5 separate regions of the Homo sapiens genome follow, and all the other regions are linked to region 4. The links are contacts of gene promoters, found by promoter capture Hi-C in human tissues and cell types (Jung and others, 2019). All regions are on one chromosome and are shown on one strand. Each heading gives the region's core, a stretch centred on a gene start or on the middle of the fragment in contact. The rest is flanking DNA. Distances are from core to core; before and after follow the strand shown. Region 1 has its middle 13 kb from the start of SNORD97. Region 2 has its middle 10 kb from the start of LINC02752. Region 3 has its middle 34 kb from the start of LINC02752. Region 4 holds the start of GALNT18 (polypeptide N-acetylgalactosaminyltransferase 18). Region 5 overlaps ZBED5 (zinc finger BED-type containing 5).

Region 1 (2,700 bases), core at 133-2,632, 830 kb after region 4:
AGCTAGGAGAGAGACATGGACAGATTATCTCTAGAGCCTTCCCATGCCCTGCTGACACCTTGATTTTGGACTTCTAGTCTCCAGAACAATGAGAGAATATGTTTTTGTTGTTCAAGACACCCTGTTTGTGCTACTTCATTACGGTAGTCCTAGAAACTAATACATTGCCCCCAACCCCAGTACCATCACTTCCATCCAGGGCCACCGTGCCCTCTAGCTCTGTCCCTTCCTCTCTCCTCCCCTGAACCCACCAGCTGCTTCACAACTCAGCTAGGTACAGAAAGGTGAGGGAAGAGCTTGGACGAACCAGTAAATAAAATGAGTGAATGAATGAGCAGTGGAGCTCTATTTTGTTCTGAGAAAAATTCTTTGAAGAAAATTAGTAATCTACTTTAGTACTAAAAAATTAGAAAATAAGCCAAAAGAAAAGATATAAAGCTAAGCCTATTAAAATTTTTCATAATTTGGGGTGAGGTGACTTTTCTTTTCTTTGCTTTGCTTCTTTTTTTTTTTTTTTTTTTTTTTTTTTTTTTTAGAGTCTCCCTCTTTCTTCTAGGCTGGAGTGCAATGGCATGATCTCGGCTCACTGCAACCTCCACCTCCCGGGTTCAAGCAATTCTCCCTGCCTCAGCCTCCCGAGTAGCTGGGATTACAGGCGCCTGCCACAACGCCCGGCCAATTTTTGTATTTTTTAGTAGAGACAGGGTTTTGCCATGTTGGTCAGGCTGGTCTTGAACTCCTGACCTCAGGTGATCTGCCCGCCTCAGCCTCCCAAAGTGCTGGGATTACAGGCGTGAGTCACCGTGCCCGGCCTAGGGTGACGTGACTTTTCTAAGCACGTTACTCGGGAAAGTTCCAGATTCTGTAGGGCCTGAAGTTTACATAATTTGGCAGGGGTGGTGGAGGTCTCTTTAGGAAAAAGAAAACAAAATCACAAATGAAAAATTAGGTGCAGCCTTGGAAGAGGCCCAGGCAAGTGAGGGACCCTGATGCCTAAGCTTTAACTTCATGGAACATCTATCTCTTTGTGAAAAAAATATACATATCCAGAAACGATGAAGGGAAATGTTGACAGATTTGCCTATTAATCTGTCCCAAAATGTTATAAAGGATAAATTAAAATATTTGCATGTGCACAATCAAGGGTTAACCACAAAAAGCTCTTTAAAAAATCAGTGGGAAAAAAAGACTAACCTTTTTGAACTCTGACTATATTATTCTCAGAATAGTCCTGGGATGTAGACATTGTTATCCCAATTTAAACAGTAGGAAATTGAAGCTGAGGGGGATGGAGCCATTGTTCAAAGTCACATCATTTGTCAGAGGAAGAGCTAGGATTTAGAGTTCGAATAACTCTAAAGTCCGCATGTTTTCTATTACACGGCAGTCAAAATTGGAGCTGATTTCCAAAGATGGGGAAAATAAAACAAAATGTGGCAAACTATAAATACCTGCAGGTTTTGTTTTGTTTTGCTTTTGTTTTGTTTGAAGACAGGGTCTCATTCTGTCGCTCAGGCTGGAGAGCAGTGGCACAATCTCAGCTTACTGAAGCCTCAACCTCTTGGGGTCAAATGATTCTCCTACCTCAGCCTCTCAAGTTGCTGGGACTACAGGTGGGCCACCATGCCCGGCTAATTTTTTGTAGAGACAGGGTTTCACCATGTTGCCTAGGGTGGTCTGGAACTCCTGGGCTCAAGTGATCCACCTCCCTCAGATTCCCAAAGTGCTGGGATTAGAGGCGTGTTTCACTGTGCCTAGCCAATACCTGCAGTTTTTATCCTCTTGAAAAAAAGCCTGACATTTTCGCTCTAACAATTTTTTCTTCTTCTTTTTTTTTTTTGTAGAGAAACATCTTCACTATGTTGAGTCTTCCAGTCCATGAACATGATATATCTCTTAATTTAAGACTTTCTTTTTTTTTTTTTTTTTTGAGACAGGGTCTCACTTTGTCACCCAGGCTGTAGTGCAGTGGTGCCATCTCAGCTCACCGCAACCTCTGCTTCCCAGGCTCAAGTGATCCTCCTGCCTCAGCCCCCAAGTAGCTGGGACTACAGGCACACGCCACCACATCTGGCTAACTTTTTGTATTCTTTGTAGAGATGGGATTTCGCCATGTTACCCAGGCTGGTCTTGAACTCCTGAGCTCAAGCGATCCTCCCACCTCGACCTCCCAAAATGCTGGGATTACAGGTGTGAGCCACTGTGCCCAGCCTGAGTCTTCTTTGATATTGTTTTCATCATTGTGTAATTTTTAGAATACATATCTTATACATGTGTTGTTAGTTTTGTTTATGTTTTTTACTTTTATTACTTTTAATTGACACACGATAATTGCCTGACAATTTCCAATTACATGAGGCCCTGTCAATTACATTTGTTTGGACAATAATCTACAGTTTGGGGATGACACATTAACCTGAAGTGATCCCAATCAATAGCTAGTTTTTGATGTTTATGGAGGCCTTCGAGAGGCTTGGTGTCAAAGAAATTGAATACAGACTTAATTGTTATTCCTGGGGACACGGTTGTAAAATCTCAAGAGTTTGCAAAAGTTATAAACAAGCATTTTAAAGATTGCTTTAAAAAGTGGTACATTAGCCTGGGCACAGTGGCTCAAGCCTGAAATCTCACTGCTTTGGGAGGCTGAGGCAGGAGATCACTTGAAGCCAGGGGTTTGAGACCAGCCTGGGCAACACGGTG
Region 2 (2,700 bases), core at 155-2,654, 520 kb after region 4:
AGAGTTTAATACATGTAGAGCCAGCTAAACAGGAGACTGGAACTTTATTATTACTCAAATCAGCCTATCTGAAAATTCAGAGGCTAGGATTTTTTTAAGATAGTTTTTTGTGTGTGTTTTTTTTTTTAAGAAGGCAGGGGGCTAGGAAACAGGGGGCTATTTTTTTTTAAGATGGATTTTTTTAAGAAGGCAGGGTGGGGAATGCTGATTGGCAGGGATGAGCTCAATTGGTTCCTGGGTGGAAGCTGTAAGAACAGACAAGCCTGCTTACCAGTCTGGGTGGTGCCAGCTGACCCACCAGAATGCAGGGTCCGAAAAATATCTCAAACACCAATCTTAGGTTTTACAAAAGTAATATTACCCAGATGAGCAATTGGGAAGATTAAGAATCTTGTAGCCTCTGGTTGCATGGCTGCTAATCCATAATTTCTAATATTGTGGCTAATTTGTTAGTTTTACAAAAGCAGTCTTCCTCCCTCCAGGTAAGAAGGAGTTTATTTCAAGGAGAGACTGTTAACATCTTTGTTTCAAAGTTAACCTGTAAACTAAATTCCTCCCAAAGTTACTTCGGCCTACACCCAGAAATGACCAAGGGCAGCTTGGAAGTTAAAGGCAAGATGGAGTCAGTAAGGTCAGATCTCTTTCACTGTCATAATAATTTTTGCAAAGGCTGTTTCAATTCAAGCCAGTATACTGCCATGCCTCATTTCATGCCCTCTTCTTGATGCAAGGAAGGCAAGCCCCAAAGTGGAGCTTAGCCTCTGAGTGTTCTTGGCTTTTCCCAGGAAATAATTCAAGGGCAAGCTAGAGGCAGAAGAAAATAGCTCTATTGAACAGACAGTGTTACAGCTCCAATGGTGTTACAGCTCTGTGCTCCTGCAGAGCAGAGCTACCCCATAGACAGAGAGTAGCAGCTCAGTACAGTTCTGCAGTCACATTTATACCCACTTTTAATTGCATACAGATTCAGAGGCAGTTTATGCAAAAATTTTTAGGGAAAGAGTATTAACTTTTGGGTAACTGGGACATTGCCATGGAAAGGGGTGGTAACTCCCCGGTGTTGCCATGGCAACAGTAAATAGATGTGGCATACTGGTTGGCATGTCTGATTGAAAGCTGCTTCCATCCTGGCCCTGTTTTAGCTAGTCTTCAATCTGGCCCAGTGTATGAGCCCCACCTCTGGAGTCAAGTCCTGCTTCCTACCTCAGTCTCATCAGAGGACCTCTCCTCTTATCCCACAGAGAATTCCAAGCCATCCAGACCACATTCATTTCTTGTCATCTTCAAACTTACCTGCATCTGCATTTATCTCTTCTTCTTCCTTCTCTCCTCAATGAAAGAGGTGACCCTCCTCCCATCTAAATCCAATGACTTGAAGCTCCACGTTCAATATCCTTCAATGGCTCCCTACAAATCTCCAGAATAAGGTTCAAACTCTGTCTCCCTGGTTCCTGACTGCTTTTCTTGCCCTTCACCCACTGTTCCTCCCTAAGCCCTCCTCCTGCAGCCCTTGCACTCATTTGGAGCTTATCAGGTCCTACCAATTTATTGGAAGTCCCTCAAGTGTGGCATGTTATTTCCTATCCCCAATAATTGCAAATTCTGTTTCTTCTACCAGGAATGTCTTCTGGTTAATTGCTACTTTTCCTGTAAAACTCAATTCTACTTTAATCTCCTCAGATTTTTTTTTTATCATCCTTCTAGCAATATGCCTTGGTACCCTTTCCATATACTATTACCAGTAATATCTGAAATAACTCTCAGTGCTTTCCATGTGTCTATGCTAAGTACCTAACCTGCTTAACCTCATTTAATCCTCATAATAACCCTCTGAAGAAAAGTTATTATTATCCCTCTTTTACAGTGGGGAAACTGAGGTTCAGAGACTTATAAAAAGTAACTTATAAAAAGTAAATCTCTGCTGGTATGTCTGTTTCTACCTGCTGCTCTTGGTAAAGGCAATGAGGTCTCTTCAGTCAGGGGCCGTGCCTTTCCTCTTTGTATACTCCCAGTGCAGACCACAGGGCCATGCATGTTAGCTTCCACAGTGAGCAAGAGTATCTACTCACCTCGGCTGCCATAATAAAATATCATAGACTGAGTGGCTCAAACAACAGAAATTTATTTCCTCACAGTTCTGGAGGCTGGAAAGTCTGTCCAAGATCAAAGTTTCAGTGGGATTTAGTTTCTGATGAGAGCTCTCTACCTAGGTCGCTGATGACCATCTTCTTGCTGTGTCCTCATGTGGCAAAAACAGATAGATCTCTGGTGTCTCTTCCTCTTCCATAAAGACATCAGTTCTGTTACATCAAGGCCCCACCTTACAACCTCATTTAACTTTAATCACCTCCTTCAAGGTGCTGTCTCCAATACAGTCACAGGGTGGCTTAGGGCTTCAATGTGAATTTGAAGGGGATGCACATTCCATTTACAGCAATGAGCTACAACTGCTCCACTGTTTCAGGGACTCTGAGGCACAAATCTGCCAGGAGTGGAGGAGTATCTTAGATCTTCTAAGGTATTGGAAGTACCTGGGACGATCCAGGAAAACATCACAGAGAAGGGGTATTGATGGACACTTAGACTATTGAAGGAAGCTAAAATACTTTACCCCAAAATATACTTCTTTGACATATTTCAAGATGCGTTATTCAGAAATGCTGGAAACACAGAATAGCTAAAAAGCTGCCTTTCATGGAG
Region 3 (2,838 bases), core at 216-2,715, 540 kb after region 4:
GATGATATGCTAGAGTTCTTGGCCTTCAGCCTACCATGATTAATAATTCAATGAGAACATAAAGGGATTTCTGAAAAAAAATAAAAAATATAACAATGCAGCGGGGAAAAATTTTTAATGCATTGGTGAATCCACTCAAGATTTAAAATATCTGAAGAGGCCAGAGCAATAATCAATATGATGAGAGATTATAACAGAGCTGTCATACCAATTGAGAGATGTGATTTAGCAGCAGTACTCTTGGAAAAGAATCATGGGTCTTAGCTGACCATAAACTCAGAAGGAATTTGAGGTATGAAGAAGTTGTCAAGAAAGTGGCTGTGCTCTGAGGTAAGGAATCCAGAAATGAGAGAAGTGATAGCCCAGTACAAGGCATGAAGCTCAGACCCCTTCTAGAGTGATTTGCTTGGTACTTGAAATATGCTCAAAGAAGGGAAATCAAGGAAAGAAAAGGATAGAGGCCATATTATATGAGAAAGAGTTGAAAAAACTGGAGGTGTTCAGCCCAGGGAAGCCCCAGGGAATGTATTAGTTTGCTCAGACTAGATGTCTTAAAACAACTGAAATGTATGCTCTCCCCCCTCTGGAGGTCAGAAATCCAAAATCAGGATGTTCACAGGGCCATGATCCCTCCTTGTCCTTTCCTGCTTCTGGTAGCCCCCAGCATTCCATAGCTTCTGGCAGCATCACTCCAGTCTCTGCCTCCATCTTCACACGGTGTTGTCCCGTTGTGTATCTTCTGATAAGGATACCAGTGATACTTGATTAAAGGCCCACCCTATGCCAGTGTGGCTTCATTTTAACTAAGTGTATCTGCAGAGACCCTATTTCCAAGTGAAGTCATATTCTGAGGTACTGGGGGTTAGGACTTCGACATACCTTTTTGGATAACGCAATTCAACCCATACAAGAGGGCAAGAGAACCGTCTTCATGTATCCTAAGAACTGTCTTGTAAAAGATTTGATTTGTGTGGCCCAAAGGGCAGAGCTAAGAAGCAGGAATGCAAACTGTGGCTACTCAGGAAGAAGCACTTTCTAAGAGTGAAAGCTGCCTCCCTGTGGCTCCTGACTCTGAAGCTGCCCAGGAAGAGGCAAGTCGACCTGTGGCTCCTGACCTGAAGCTGCCCAGGAAGAGGCAAGTTGGTGGCATTGGGGGGCAGTCTCTCCCAGGAAGGGGATGGGGCTGCATGGCCTCATCTCACTCTGTTACTTGATTCTCTGGCACTCTGGCACGAGGGAACTATTTTTAACCAAGCAGAGATTTAAGTGGCTCTTTCCAAGAACCAGTATAAGTAGATGAGCTTCACGATAATGCAGACTGCTTATGAGAAATGGAGCATGAATTGCAGACCCAAGAAACGAATATAATTCAGCCTCTATTTTAATTTTTAATTGGAAAAAAAAAGCCCATCCCAGCCAGAAAGAACAGGGGAAGAGAGTACTTTGCACAGCGCTATAGAAAGAATTTGTTAGCTCTGCTGAAACAAATGGCATAGTCTTGTTGCTTCTGCCATCCCCACAATCAGGATAGGAAAGATTTCTACAGAGACTGCCGCTGCTGCCCGTCTCCATGGATAATGAAGGTCACGGTTTATGGGCACAAACTATTCTGCTCCAGACACAGCTTCATTGGTATGCAGGCATGAAAACCCAGCAGCCAGCCCCACACACTGATCAGATTTTGGAATTTAGTCATAATGTATACCTTCTCTCACTCCCTCCCATTTTCTCCAGACAGTTTTGCATTTAAATGGAGCAAGAGGACAATAGAAAGGAGTCAGGGAAAGAGAATTAGCATTTACTAGGCACCTACTGTGTGCCAGGCATTTGTTTCATTGAATTATTCAGGCTTTGATTCCACGTAAGATGGGGTCAGCATGTGTGCATGTGCGTGTGTGTATGTGTGCGTACACACGCTGACATATGTGTGACCTAGATGGAAAATGAAGGGAAAGGAAAGAGGTGGAGAGTGCTTACAAGATGGAAAGAGGAATAAGGGTGGAGGTCCTGGAGCAGCCTTTTGAGACAACGAGTTAGGCTGTTTCTCTGATGGCCAGGCAGGGAAGTTCCTGCTTCCAGCAAGGGTATCCAACCTGGACAGGACCCAAGGGTCAGGTCCAACCAGAGTCACAGGAATGCCTGAAATCAAGGCCTGAGATGAAAGAAAGCTGAAGAATTTGAGAGAATGTAAGGTTCCATCAGTCCTGGAAGGTCTTCCAAGGCAGCCAGACCTCAGCTGGACATTTAGGTGTCTCTGTTCAGGATCTTGCTGCATCCAGAGCCCGAACTTTGTAATTTTACCCATTTTACATTTACTGATTTTCTTGATTTACTCTGGAACCTCAGTAAAACTCTCCCCTTTCTGGCTCCAGCCCAGTGGTTCTGAGTCACTCAGGTATAAATGGATCACTGGGGAGACTGTTTATAGAGCAGATCCCCAAATCCCACCAGCAGAAAGAGACAGGTTCAGGGGGTTAAGAATGAAGCTTGACGATCTGAACTTTTAACAAGCACCTCAGGTAAACAGAGGAGCATGCTTTCAGAAATACTACTTCAGGTCATTTACGGCTTTGTTCGAAGAAAAAGAGGATGTGTCCGCCCATGTGCTAAAAAGGAGAAGATAAAAAAGTGTCCTTATGGCCAAGTGTGCTGGTGCATCAACAAGTGTGCTAAAGCAGCAACATTCTGGGAAGTTCAACAACCATTAGATTAGACAACCTCTCTGGGCTCTCCCTTTCCCTGTGCTGAAATTTTAGAGACACTCTTTTTTGTACCTAAAAATCTCACCATTGCTTCTCTCTTCCTTAGGGTAAAGGGATGTCCAGCTCCAAGGTGTCA
Region 4 (2,708 bases), core at 124-2,623:
AGTTGGTATCTGTTTTCATAGCATCTTTGGGGAGGTTTTGTAAACAAAGCATTGGTAGAAGGGCCCTTGGCTGATGGGGCCATAAAGTGCCCTTTCTTTGGTTTTGTGCTCTCCCTCTCTTGTGGGGCCAGTCATTTGAATCCAGAAGATATCCCAGGATGGAGCTGCCCTGAGTATTTCTGTGGCTGGTTGGAAGGCTGGCACACAACAAAGTGGGCATGCAGCAGGCTGCCTCCCTGGCTTAGGCCAAAAAAATAAAGCAACTCAGAGATGGAGAAGAGGCAGGAAATCTATGTTGTAAAAAGTCTTTGTTTAAAGGAATTCCGTTCAGGTGCTGAGAACGGGGTGTTCAGCAGAAGAGGATAATATGAGTAAACATTGGCAGTAAGAACAAACACAGCAGTATCACTGTCTGCGTCTGGCCTCCTCCTGTGCTCAGTCACAGGTCTCTCCCACCGCCCTCTATGATAGCAATCATAAACAACATGTAGAAGGGCTTTACAGTTCACAGACCTCAGTTCCCCTCAGCGGCACTTCCTTGCAGGGTTTCTTTATGCACTGGATGACCCTGGTTCCACATAAATGAAAACTGGGCTTAAAGGACACATCCATGTCCTGGGAGCTGTACAGACTTAAAGAAAAACCTAGATAGGGGCAAAAATTGGGGCAGGCGGTGGGGGTGGGGGGTGGGGGGTGGGGGGGGGGAAGAAGTGGTCGAGAGAGTCATCTAATAGGTCACCAATGTTGCTTCTGGGAGGTTGCCGGAGGGTTGGCTCCTTTCAGCCAGGTTTAGGGCCAGGTCTGGACACACTCAGGAGGCCGGTGGCTGAAGGGCAGAGGGCAGGGTGGAGGCCCAAGTGAGGCCAAGGAAGGAGTGGATGCCGCTGGGGCTGGCACTTCCTTGGCTTCTCAGCGTCCTGGCAACCAAGAAAAGATTCCAGGAGTCGACTGGTGGCACCAATGCGAGAAGCCCCGGGCGGATGAAAGAAGCTGACCCGTGCGAACCCCCCACCCCCTCCACAAAACCAGGAGATTCCTGCCCAAGAGCAAGAGATGGAATTCCCCTAACGGAGGAAGCTGCCGACCTAAGGGCTGGGACTGGCAGCGCGCCCTCTCCGGGAGCTTCAGGTCTGGGGCAGCCTGTGCAGGCGCGGGTGGAGGCCCGGGCGCGTCCCTGGGGGCGGGAGCCAGGGGCGGCCAGCAGGTGGGGCCTGGGAGCTGGACTCCGCCCCCCGCTCCCTCCCCGTTGGTCCGCTGCCGCTCAGCACCGGCCCCTCTCCCGAGCCGGAGCGCGATTGGTGGCAGCGCTTGTCGCTCGGAGGGGGCCGGGCCGCTCTGCTTCGCGGCTCTCCCCGCCGCCGCTGCCGCTGCCGCTGTTCTCCTAGCAGCGCGGGCCGGTCGGACCGCCAAGGCAGCCGGCGCTGGCGATGGGAAGCGGCGTGGCCGCCGACACAGGCAGTGGCAAAGTTTCCCAGACGTACACATCTGGACGCGCGGCTGCCGGCTACCCGTGACCCCTCTAGGAAGGGTTCAGGGATTTTTAATTTGGAAAAAAATCCACCTGGTTTCCTTTGTCAAGGTCTCTCCGGGTGGCCAGCGGCAGGAGCTGCAAACTTGGGCACGGCGGCTACACCGGCAGCGGACCGGGCTTTGGAGAACCTCGGGACTCAGGTGCTGAGGTGCCCAGCGGCTCCGGACGTGCTACGGGGTGCGAGCGCGGGGGAGTTCGGGGCGCACGACAAGGAAGGGCCCCCGGGAGCTCTATATGGAGGAAGGAGCCCAGAATGGTGTGCACCAGGAAGACCAAAACTTTGGTGTCCACTTGCGTGATCCTGAGCGGCATGACTAACATCATCTGCCTGCTCTACGTGGGCTGGGTCACCAACTACATCGCCAGCGTGTATGTGCGGGGGCAGGAGCCGGCGCCCGACAAGAAGCTGGAGGAAGACAAAGGGGACACTCTGAAGATTATTGAGCGGCTGGACCACCTGGAGAATGTCATCAAGCAGCACATTCAAGGTACGGGCGCCCCGGAAACTTGGGTCGCCCATGAGGCCCGGGAGTGCCCCGCGCGGCGCGGGGTGCGCTGGGGCTGGTGCGCATCAACTCAGCCACGGCGGGGCTCTGGGGCCGCAGATGCGTGGTAGTCGTGGGGCCTGCGTGTGAGCTCCTGCCTGCGTTCGGGACCTTCTGTCTGCGGCCGTGCGCTCTTCCCCGGGGCACACGTGTGTGCGCAGGGCTGCACGAGCGGATGTGTGCAGCTAGCTGGCGGTATGGGGGCGCGCTGCGCACGTGTCCAAATGTGCGTGTGACTCTGGGCTGGTTGCTCGCGGGCTCTCGGGATCGCACACAAGTCCGGCTCAGAGTGTGTGTGCATGTGAATGTCTGTGTGTGTACAAGAGGGAACGCGCGGGCAAACGAGCTTTTTTGGCCACTGTAGGCGTCAGGCGAGATGCCCGCGCGGCGGCCCTGACTATTGGCAGTTAAGACCCGCAGGCTGCCGGACAAGCGAGGCTAGGAAAATTGCGTTGTATCAGCCCCAGCCCCAGTCTTGCTGTGATCCCGTTGGTAGGCGATAGGGAATGCAAGGAGCCCTCTGTGGTTGAAAAGCCGCTTGAACCTATAGCAGTCCCTACCCCCACCACAGCCCGCGGGTCCAGGACCCTCTCCAGGAGCAGGTGTCAACGCCGGGAAGTAGCGCTGGAGTC
Region 5 (2,700 bases), core at 73-2,572, 770 kb after region 4:
GTTGATTTTAATATGTTTATTTAAATATGAGATTAAGACTGCTAAACTCATTTCTATAGCTTTTATTTTTATGTGATAATCTACCTTTAAGAAAAGGTGTACCATACCTGAGAGCACCAGGAAGTCGCATGAGAGATCACCTGATACATGAACGTATGATGTTCCATCTGCGCATTGATGAATAGGCAGCATTTACAAATTAACTGATGTGTTGCTGTATATCATCTCTTTGATGATTGCTCCTCTTCTTTGTATCCTGTCTTATAATTTCAACACATTTGCGATACTCAATGTCTATTCTAAATTAACCATGTTTTGTACCACAAACTCATTGCCCATGGATCTGTTGCTGAAACAAGGAAGTCTTAAACAAGAAGTGGAATCTTTCTGTTATCAGATTGTGTCTGAATCAAATGATCAGAAGGTTGGAATATTACAAAGTGAAGATAAGCAGTTGCAACCTTCAGTTTCTAAAAAATCAGAAGGTGAGCTTTCCAGGGTCAAATTTATATCCAATTCCAACAAAATAACATTTAGTAAAAAACCAAAAAGAAGAAAATATGATGAAAGTTATTTGTCTTTTGGATTTACTTACTTCGGAAATAGAGATGCACCTCATGCTCAGTGTGTATTATGTAAGAAAATTTTATCAAATAGCTCTTTAGCCCCTAGTAAGCTTCGAAGACATTTGGAAACTAAACATGCTGCATATAAAGACAAAGACATAAGCTTTTTCAAGCAACATCTCGATTCACCTGAAAATAATAAACCCCCAACACCTAAAATTGTGAATACAGATAATGAAAGTGCTACAGAAGCATCATACAATGTAAGTTACCATATAGCGCTGAGTGGAGAGGCTCATACTATTGGAGAATTGCTTATCAAACCTTGTGCAAAAGATGTAGTGATGCGGATGTTTGATGAACAATATAGTAAAAAAATAGATGCAGTACAGCTATCAAACAGTACTGTTGCACGTCGAATTAAGGATCTAGCTGCTGACATTGAAGAAGAGCTTGTTTGTAGACTGAAAATTTGCGATGGGTTTTCACTGCAACTAGATGAATCAGCTGATGTTTCAGGACTTGCTGTGCTGCTTGTGTTTGTTCGTTATAGGTTTAATAAGTCTATTGAGGAAGACCTACTCCTGTGTGAATCTTTGCAAAGTAATGCTACCGGTGAAGAAATATTCAACTGTATCAACAGTTTTATGCAGAAACATGAAATTGAATGGGAAAAATGTGTTGATGTTTGTAGTGATGCTTCTAGGGCAGTGGATGGGAAAATTGCCGAAGCTGTCACCTTAATAAAATATGTGGCTCCCGAAAGCACCAGTAGTCACTGCCTATTATACAGACATGCACTGGCAGTTAAAATAATGCCTACATCTCTAAAAAATGTGCTAGACCAGGCAGTACAAATCATCAATTATATTAAAGCTCGACCACATCAATCCAGACTATTAAAAATTTTATGTGAGGAAATGGGTGCTCAGCACACAGCACTTCTTCTAAATACAGAGGTGAGGTGGCTTTCTCGAGGTAAAGTTCTTGTAAGACTTTTTGAACTTCGTCGTGAACTTTTGGTTTTCATGGATTCTGCTTTTCGACTATCTGATTGTTTAACAAATTCATCTTGGCTGCTAAGACTTGCATATCTTGCAGATATTTTTACTAAATTAAATGAAGTTAATTTGTCAATGCAAGGAAAAAATGTGACCGTTTTTACAGTATTTGATAAAATGTCGTCATTGTTAAGAAAATTGGAATTTTGGGCCTCATCTGTAGAAGAAGAAAACTTTGATTGTTTTCCTACACTCAGTGATTTTTTGACTGAAATTAATTCTACAGTTGATAAAGATATTTGCAGTGCCATTGTGCAGCACCTAAGGGGTTTGCGCGCTACTCTGTTAAAATACTTTCCTGTAACAAATGACAATAATGCTTGGGTTAGAAATCCATTTACAGTTACTGTTAAACCAGCTTCATTAGTAGCACGGGACTATGAGAGCCTGATTGATTTAACATCTGATTCTCAAGTGAAGCAAAATTTTAGTGAACTTTCACTAAATGATTTTTGGAGTAGCCTAATTCAGGAATACCCAAGCATTGCAAGGCGTGCAGTGCGTGTACTTCTTCCTTTTGCTACAATGCACCTGTGTGAAACGGGGTTTTCATATTACGCTGCAACAAAAACAAAATATAGGAAAAGACTTGATGCTGCACCTCATATGCGAATCCGACTTAGCAATATTACACCTAATATTAAGCGGATATGTGATAAAAAGACACAAAAACACTGTTCTCATTAAAATTGGAGGAGTTTGCATGTCTCATGATAACCAAATGTAAGATGAAAATAAAAGATGATTTACTTCATCTCTGGTATTTGGGGGATTTAAATAAAATGATTCCATTTTTTTATACTATTTAGATTTTAAGAAGGCTAAAGAATCAAACGTTTTAAACATATTGTGTTATTATTGGTATTTCTTTACATTGTAATTTTAAAGAGTTCCATGATCATAACTGGGAAATAATGATCCCCAAGATAAAGTCCCAGTCCCTTAACATATCTCTTCAGGATCTAATCCCTACCAATCTTTCCGTGTCTACTCTGCAGCTCTCCAATCCCATGGAACTTCTTGCCATTCCCTAAACATATCACACTGTTTTATCGTTTCAGGTCTCAAAAAGC

What was found. The method cuts DNA at HindIII sites, captures the fragments that hold promoters and counts their contacts. A contact is called where the count stands out against the background at its distance.
Region 1: a fragment that was not itself captured here is called in contact with the fragment with the promoter of GALNT18 in region 4 in 1 of the 25 tissues and cell types used here (aorta).
Region 2: a fragment that was not itself captured here is called in contact with the fragment with the promoter of GALNT18 in region 4 in 2 of the 25 tissues and cell types used here (dorsolateral prefrontal cortex and mesenchymal stem cells).
Region 3: a contact is called between a fragment that was not itself captured here and the fragment with the promoter of GALNT18 in region 4, in 1 of the 25 tissues and cell types used here (IMR-90 fibroblasts).
Region 5: a contact is called between a fragment that was not itself captured here and the fragment with the promoter of GALNT18 in region 4, in 1 of the 25 tissues and cell types used here (aorta).

What each region holds. Positions count from the first base shown.
Region 1 is chr11:10,787,724-10,790,423 of GRCh38, reverse strand. No RefSeq gene overlaps it. Among named protein-coding and RNA genes, the nearest start is that of SNORD97, 13 kb to the left of the region's middle. The HindIII fragment of the contact is 7,576 bases long and covers 1-2,700 here.
Region 2 is chr11:11,103,924-11,106,623 of GRCh38, reverse strand. No RefSeq gene overlaps it. Among named protein-coding and RNA genes, the nearest start is that of LINC02752, 10 kb to the left of the region's middle. The HindIII fragment of the contact is 4,068 bases long and covers 1-2,700 here.
Region 3 is chr11:11,080,316-11,083,153 of GRCh38, reverse strand. No RefSeq gene overlaps it. Among named protein-coding and RNA genes, the nearest start is that of LINC02752, 34 kb to the left of the region's middle. The HindIII fragment of the contact is 8,828 bases long and covers 1-2,838 here.
Region 4 is chr11:11,620,670-11,623,377 of GRCh38, reverse strand. It overlaps GALNT18 (polypeptide N-acetylgalactosaminyltransferase 18), which reads left to right and starts at 1,373. Exons shown (of 11, transcript NM_198516.3): 1 at 1,373-2,019. The coding sequence starts at 1,785. RefSeq lists silencers at 1,071-1,430, 2,181-2,260, 2,281-2,350 and enhancers at 933-1,433, 1,551-1,630, 1,841-1,890, 2,631-2,708, 2,523-2,708. The HindIII fragment of the contact is 13,654 bases long and covers 1-2,708 here.
Region 5 is chr11:10,852,478-10,855,177 of GRCh38, reverse strand. ZBED5 (zinc finger BED-type containing 5) reads left to right here. Exons shown (of 3, transcript NM_001143667.2): 3 at 92-2,472. The coding sequence starts at 233. The coding sequence ends at 2,314. Among named protein-coding and RNA genes, the nearest start is that of ZBED5, 4.2 kb to the left of the region's middle. The HindIII fragment of the contact is 3,978 bases long and covers 1-2,700 here.